Regions from separate parts of the Homo sapiens genome. Here all the other regions are linked to region 1. Evidence: promoter capture Hi-C in 16 types of primary human blood cells and fetal thymus (Javierre and others, 2016). All regions are on one chromosome and are shown on one strand. Each heading gives the region's core, a stretch centred on a gene start or on the middle of the fragment in contact. The rest is flanking DNA. Distances are from core to core; before and after follow the strand shown.

Evidence for each region. Contacts are between HindIII fragments. The CHiCAGO score rates a contact against its expected background, and 5 or more counts as called.
Region 2: a contact is called between a fragment that was not itself captured here and the fragment with the promoter of LDHB in region 1, in 5 of 17 cell types (total CD4 T cells, naive CD4 T cells, total CD8 T cells and 2 more). The highest score is 9.0, in total CD4 T cells.
Region 3: a fragment that was not itself captured here is called in contact with the fragment with the promoter of LDHB in region 1 in 1 of 17 cell types (activated CD4 T cells); the score reaches 6.2 in activated CD4 T cells.

What each region holds. Positions count from the first base shown.
Region 1 is chr12:21,656,559-21,659,179 of GRCh38, forward strand. It overlaps LDHB (lactate dehydrogenase B), which reads right to left and starts at 1,284. Exons shown (of 8, transcript NM_002300.8): 1 at 1,193-1,284. RefSeq lists enhancers at 836-925, 956-1,205, 1,183-1,711, 1,586-1,765. The HindIII fragment of the contact is 8,571 bases long and covers 1-2,621 here.
Region 2 is chr12:22,398,188-22,400,808 of GRCh38, forward strand. No RefSeq gene overlaps it. Among named protein-coding and RNA genes, the nearest start is that of ST8SIA1, 65 kb to the left of the region's middle. The HindIII fragment of the contact is 233 bases long and covers 1,176-1,408 here.
Region 3 is chr12:22,337,463-22,340,083 of GRCh38, forward strand. No RefSeq gene overlaps it. Among named protein-coding and RNA genes, the nearest start is that of ST8SIA1, 4.1 kb to the left of the region's middle. The HindIII fragment of the contact is 6,355 bases long and covers 1-2,621 here.

The sequences.
Region 1 (2,621 bases), core at 34-2,533:
AAGAAACAGTGGCTATATAAATACAGATTCGTTGTTCTGATAGACCTTTTAATTTAGAAAACTTCAGGAAGTACAATTTAAAGGCTCGAACCAGATTTTCTTTCAGATATTTCTGGAGAAAGTGCTTTTCTTCAATTTTTCCTTAAAAAGAGTTTTAAGAAATGAGAAGAAAATGGTCTGCATGATATACAGGCCTGTGCCAACATCAGAGTGCAGGCTGTAAGGAACAAGAACGACAAACGGTAAAAATCTCTGAGTCTTGGTCCCTTATGTCTCCTCACTGCTGTGGATATAAATCATTAGAAATAAAGGAGCGCCTTAATTTCAGGAACAAAGATCTTCTTTGCAGAATCTTTCTCACCGTAATCTTTTAAAAATTCAGGTTTTGCTTTTGAATTCCTCCCCTCCCCCCATTCCCCAGGCCCTTACTGCAGCTTGTACTGCTCGCGGTGCGCACAAACCATCTTTTCCTCAGGGCACCGGCAGCAAAGAACAGCAGATCACGAGGGCATGCAGAAGCTAGAGATCTCCCCGAGTAAGGTCTGTGGGGACAAGTCTAGGACTTCCTTACTCGGAGCACCCAAGGCTGGTAAAGTAAACGAAGCCCCTAAGCATCCAGAAAAGAGGCCCTGCAGGAAAGAACTGGCGCATGGCTCCTGGAAAGACCGTCAGAGCCGGGTAAAAATAAGTGCAGCGCCAAACGTGCTGGTCATCTAGGTGCCTTTCTCCTCATCCCAGCGAGTGCAAGGGCATTTCTCTATTACCGTGGCAATATATTCAAATATTCGAGGTAAAGATCGTCCAGCCTTCATAGGCCACCTGGTTCCGTCCCCCTCCCCCAGCTACTCGGGCACGTGTCCCGACTCCCGCCAGCAGGCCGTGGGGGTGATGTGGCCGCCATGAACCCACCAAGGACAAGTAGGGCCTGGTTTTAGCTGCAAATGCAACAAGTCTCTCCGCTGAGCCGCAGCTGCTACCCTCTGCCTTCTGCTCCTCCGCCAGGGCACGGCCCCCCCTGCGCCCCAAACTGAGCGGCAAAGTCAGGGCCCGCGGCCGGATGCTCAGAGCTAAAGGCCGCGGAGGACAGATGTGCTTCTTCCTCCTTCCCGCGTCTCCCCATACAAGTACTACCCCGCACGTCCCATCAGGCTTGCCTGTGGGCCAGGATTCAGGGTCCTGAGCCGAAACCTACCAGGAGAGAGAAGGCTCTGGAGACCTCTGTAACAGTCGTGCGGAGAAGACAAAGTCAGCTGCGTGCGTCTCCTCCGGCGCCGGCTCTGCAAGGAGGGAGGAGGGGGCGGGGCCCCACAACCACCGCAGCCTCTTAGGTTTCTCCATTGTGATTGGAAATCCGAGTACCGCCTACCCCTCCCCTCGGCTCGCTCAATCCCCTTCAAGGACAAGGGCTCAAGTATGCACACTCCCTCCCCCACCCTCCAGATGAGGAGGTCTCCTTCCAGAGGCTTCCGCTCTCAGCTGGTCTCACATCTCGCAGGCTCTTCAATGCGGAGGCCAAGTTATTTATAAAACTTGCCCATCCCCGACTCTTCTGGACTTTAACGCTCTTGTTCTATTAGATTTAGTACAAATAGAAATAAATTTCTTTCCTTCTTTTTTTTATTTTGAGACGGAGTCTCACTCTGTCGCCCAGGCTGGAGTGCAGTGGCGCGATCTCGGCTCACTGCAAGCTCCGCCTCCCGGGCTCACGACATTCTCCTGCCTCAGCCTCCCGAGTAGCTGGGACTACAGGCGCCCGCCACCTCGCCCGGCTAATTTTTTGTATTTTTAGTAGAGAGGGGGGTTTCACCGTGTTAGCCAGGATGGTCTCGATCTCCTGACCTCGTGATCCGCCCGCCTCGGCCTCCCAAAGTGCTGGGATTACAGGCCTGAGCCACCGCGCCCGGCCAGAAATAAATTTCTATGTTGCATTTCAGTTAAACTTTAAAGGACTTAAAAAAATACATCTGAATTTAGATCATCTCCGTTTTAAAGTTCATTTGATGAAAATGACTATTTTTTTCAACCTGTTTCAACAAACACGCAATGATTGCTTACTCGTTGCCTGACAAGACCAATGAGGCTTTGTCCCTGCCATCTGAAGTTCCCCTACAATTCCACCTGGTCTCAAGGTCAGGCTTTGCCCTCTAGGGGAAATGTGGGACCACTAAGTGAGATGCACTTTCTTTTTTAGTCCCTAATCGACTCCAAAGCTGGATGTTGTCATTCATTCTGTCTTCAACACTCAGCCAGTGCTTGGTACCTAAATATAGCATTGATGAATAAATGAATGAATGATAAATTGGAGGAATTCTGAAGAGTCTGGCTTCAGTTCTGTTTTCTTATAATTAAAATGCTTTCAAATATAGCCATCTCACAAACTTCCTGTATGTGAAGTGTTTTTTTTTGTAAATGCATATTTCTTGTATATGACCACTAATTCTATAATTATTGCTTCAGTTTATTCTCAGTGCCAAGCATTGGTAAAAAACATAAATATAAGATTATGCCCTTTGAGGTGTTCCTAGTCCATTGGAGACAGACAAGTAGGCAACCTATTTCAATTACAATAAGTGGCAATAGAAATTTGGTTAAAGTACAATAAAAATTCAGAGTAAAGAATC
Region 2 (2,621 bases), core at 42-2,541, 740 kb after region 1:
TAACAAATTAGATCAGTTGATTGTCCTTCCCCAATCTGGTGAATATCTGGATCTGATCTTTTAGATCTTTAAGATTTTGGGCTACAATTCCTGGCTTATTAATGTGTAAACAGCATTTTTTTTCTAATACGGCAGTTTCAATATAATAGATTTTCCTGGTTTGCAGTTTGAATGTCTCTGGTGATGCCATTGGGCATTCTGGTTAACTTTCTGCATGGCCCACACAGCAGGCAAAAAGGTTGTCAACATATGAGCTGCTGTGGTGATTTCTCTGAAATGCATATCAAGTCATCCAGCCCCAGCTTGTGGACCTGCAAGGCTAGGAACAACCCTAGTAGTATGATTTTAAAGCTATCAGAAACCTGTCAGAATTTTGCAATTTTGTAACATAGCTACTTGCAAAAACTTCTAGAAAAACCATCAGAGTAAAAAAATAACTATTTTTGAATGACAAAATACTTAAAATGACCACAGTTAAAGATGATGATAAGCATTTATATAAATGAAATTGATGAGGAAATATGGTTATTTCTGTGACATATAACATTTTAAGGTAATAACCAGGATTATAACTGATTATACAGACAATAAGAAAATTAAAAAATTTCTAACAACTCTATATAATTTTTGGAATACCTATATCCACATAAATATAATCTAAAGAAGGTTTATCATCACTTCTTATTTAACAATGCTTCCCATACAATTTAACATACCAAATAAACCTAATTATTTTAACATCTCTTTCTGATAAGACTAGATATTAATCCTTTGTGTTTCTCCAGCAGCCCTCTGGAAAATCTCAAAATTAGGTTGAGGTCAAGCAGATTGTATTTAAGATTTGGTTTGGGGAAGGTGAAATAGTCAAAAATGTCAAAAGATTTTAAACACTTGATTAAATGGGACACTTGAAACAATACTTAGTTATCCCTGTAACCAAAATAAGAATTAATGATTTCAAAGACAAATACAGAAAGTTATATAGTTGACAAAAACCTCAGCTCTTTTAACAGAGAAGTCTGTTTTCTTAAGTTGTCAGACATGATCAAGACAACATGAAGCAAAGGAAAGTATTTTGATAAGACCAAAATCCTTTTGTTTTTAGGCAAATCACTTAGGAGGTAAAGAGAAACCTTTCATAGTCACTTACCAGGAATACACCAATAACCTAAGAAAGCTTTGTTCTTTTAACAAAAATAAGACCAAAATCTAATTTTGTCTCAACATACTTTTGATACTAAGCCTCATTTTTAAACCATTATAATAAATTCATTTCATTTCAGCCAGCCTAACTACATAAGATTATCTCTCTTCATATTATCTCTTTCTCTTTCTCTCTCTCCCCCCACCCCAATTTCTATGTCCATTTAGTTTTTGTCCTTCATTTCCCTCTTTTTCATTTGAAACAAGCTTTAAACTCTAAAATAGAACAATAATTTTCTTTTTCTCAGCAAAAAACACATCCTTATACTTTATAACTTATCTTACCAAAAATAAACCTTACTTTCCTTGTCTAATTTATATTAATTCGTTTTTCTTATTATTTCTAGTGTCCTTAATTACATATATTAATTAATTCTTAGCTCTTAGTAAACTTAATTTTCAGCAAAAATGAGGAAGTATGCCATTTCATAACTATGAGAAAGCATCGTACAATTTTTAAATGTAGCACGTTTACTTACAAACTCAAATATCTTTAGTGTCTGTAATAAGAAGCTGCAGAGTAGGCAAAATTTTATTTCTATCCTCTTAGAGTTTTCAGCTGAGACTGAGAAACAAATTTTTGTTTGTACAGATTTCCCTTTGCCTCAACTTTGCATTCTTGACAAGAATGTTACTTCCCTTCTTATAAGGGGAGAACATCTTTCATGTGGAAATTTTATCTTCTGCTTTTAAGAATTAGAAGGGAGAGGTTCCAAGATGGCCAAATAGAAACAACTCCAGTCTATAGCTCCCAGTGTGAGCGATGCAGAAGATGGGTGATTTCTGCCTTTTCAACTGAGGTACCGGGTTCATCTCACTGGGGCTTGTCAAACAGTGGGTGCAGGACAATGGATGCAGCCCACGGAGTGTAAGCCAAAGCAGGGCGGGCATCGCCTCACCCAGGAAGTGCAAGGGGTCAGGGAATTCCTTTTCCTGGCCAAGGGAAGCTGTGACAGATGGTACCTGGAAAATCGGGACACTCCCACTCTAATACTGTGCTTTTCCAATGGTCTTAGCAAATGGCACACCAGGAGATTATATCCCGCACCTGGCTGGCTGGGAGGGTCCCACGCCCACAGAGCCTCGCTCACTGCTAGCACAGCAGTCTAAGATCGAACTGCAAGGTGGCAGCAAGGCTGGGGGATGGGCGTCCACCATTGCTGAGGCTTGAGTAGGTAAACAAAGCAGCTGGGAAGCTCGAACTGGGTGGAGCCCACCACAGCTCCAGGAGGCCTGCCTGCCTCTGTACACACCACCTCTGGGGGCAGGGCATAGCGGAACAAAAGGCAGCAGAAACTTCTGCAGGCTTAAATGTCTCTGTCTGACAGCTTTGAAGAGACTAGTGGTTCTCCTAGCACAGAGTTTGAGATCTGAGAATGGATAGACTGCCTCCTCAAGTGGGTCCCTGACCCTCAAGT
Region 3 (2,621 bases), core at 71-2,570, 680 kb after region 1:
CAGGTATCAACTCAGGCACTTCAACAAATAATTGTTGCTTGGTTTTATAATGAGATCCTCAAACTTATTCAGTCTATTGCCAAGGCATCACTGTTTAAGGAAAAGTATGAACCCCCAAGTTTTAATGTTTTAAATAAAATATTTTAATTGATATTTAGCCATCTTGTTTGTATGACTTATAGTAAGTAGCTTAGGTATTCTTTTATACTTCTGCATCTGAGTATGCTTAGCGGACACAAACAGGATTTCCTCAGGGACTAAACAACTTTTAAAACTCTATAAATGTGTAGTAGAAAAATGTAAAGGCAGGAGTCCAGATTAAACAGAATTGTCAGTGATTTGAGATAAAATTTTAAAAGGCCAATCTTCAGTCTCTGCTCAAGTTCTTCTTGTCAGAATGGCTTGGAATGGCCAGTCAAAAGCATAAAATGATGCCTGTTTCACAACCAATTACAACACCAAGGTAAATAAGGTTGTAGATTGAGAAAGGTTATAAATATAGTTTATCTGAATAAATGCATTTATTTATCTCCACTCCCTATTGTGACCTCACTAAAAGAAGAGTAAAGGAGTAAAAGTGAAAAAGATTCAGAAGAACAAGAAAAAACGAAGGAATACAAAAGCAGACAAAGGATGTCAAAAAGTTCACAAGCAGGAAAGCAATTAAACAAGTGTTAACTGACTTATCAGGAGAGAGAAAGGTCTGGGCCTTCAAGTAACTCTGTGTGTGTGTGTGTGTGTGTGTGTGTGTGTGTGTGTGTGTGTGTGTGTGTGTCCACGTGCACAGAAAATTGAGGAGCATAGAGAGAAGCCAACAAGAATCAAGCTAATTTATACTAGAGAGTTCTTGAAAGGCTCAGAAACGAAGGCACCTAGGACCTCTGGAGATGGAGGTAATGAATGAAACAAACTAAGAGGTTTGTTGGAAATCTTTAAAAAGGAGCAGTTGAAACATCTAGATCTTATTCCCCAACTGGCTTAAAACGGGAGGTTAAATCTCTAGAGACTGACCAGCACAAAAGAGAAGACCTACAGATTCTGATATGTTTAAGAGATCTCCAATCGAATGGCCAAATCCCTGTCTAACACCCTCTAGTGAGACCCATTAGTGTATAAGCTCTGCCTACACCGAGTTTCGTGGCCTCTTTTTCAGGCCTCCTTCTTAAATATGAGGGGAGAGTCAAGGATCCCTAGACATTTGAAGAGAGTCTCCAACATGAAAGTAGAGACAAAACAAGCAAATGATCACACACAGAAATCAACTCTAGGAAAAAATGATAATGCAGGAAACATAAGAAATCTTCAATAAAAACCATAATTAATATTCTCACATGGACTGAGACACAATCCAATGAAGCAAGAACAAAAGGAATGTTCAGATGACTAAAAATAAAGTCCTTTGAAACTTAAAATATGGTAACAAAATATATAACAGAATTCATAGAAAAGTTGAATTACAAAGTTAAAGAAATATCCCAGAAAGTAGGCCAAAAATATAAAAGAGGGTAAACAAGATAATAAATTATAGGCTCAAAGAAAAAATAAATATCCAAACAACAAGAAACAAAAAGCAGATTTTCAAAGACATACTAAAAAGAATCCTAAAATTTAAGAGTTCATTAAGGACTCAATAAAATGAATTTTTTAAACCTACACCAAAGGTATATAACACTGAAATTTTAGAAAATAAGAAACAGAAAATAATGGAAGTTTAAAGAAGAAAATGCATGCAAAAGATTGGAAATTATGTTGGGATTAGATTTATTTAAAGCAAGAAAGCTGAAAATCAACAACTTTACTTGGGCTCAATAAAGAACTAAAGTTACAAGGCAATTCCCCTCTCCTCCAAAATGGAGAAATGGACAAATCCAGAGCCAGAGTTGAGGTATGTTTATCTGGAGCAGAAGATGTTGAAGCCATAAACTGGTAGGAACGCTTCAGTGGTCATTTGGAATTGGCATAGTGGAATTGCTGGAGGCTAAGTGTGGACTAGAGTGAAAGGGAGAAACTCCTGGGGATCACAATCAGGAAGTCCTGGAGATCATAGTCAGGTGGGCCTCCACACTTTTTATAGTTTTACCTCCAAGAATCTCACTCACACAGGATGGGGGCCAGGGAAGTATTGGGTAAAAAAGGACAGTGTCCCTGGAGATGGCTCCACCCTCAGGCCTGTGCCCACAGACCTAAGTGAGAACAGGCACTCCTGTTTTCGTGCCCAAATGTTGCATTTTCCAAGACTGCTCTGGCCTACCATGCCCCCCATCCTGTTCCCATATAAACCTAAGGCCTTAGCAGGCACAGACGCAAGCAGCTGAAGGTTGAGCGAAGCAGAAGAACACACCAGCAGACACCAGCAGACCGGCAGACCAGCAACGGCAGAACGACATGGCAGAGAAAGAAAGAAGAGCAGGGACATCTGGATGCCAAGAGGAGTTCGGCCGGGGGCGGTTAGAGAAGAGTCTGGCAGCTGGGCAGCCCAACTCCTGAGGAAGACCACATTTCCATTCCATCCCCCTCTTCCAGCTCCCCATCCATCTTGCTGAAAGCCACCCCCACCACTCAATAAAACTTTGCACTGATCCTTCCAGCCCACATGTGATCCGATTTTTCCAACACACTGG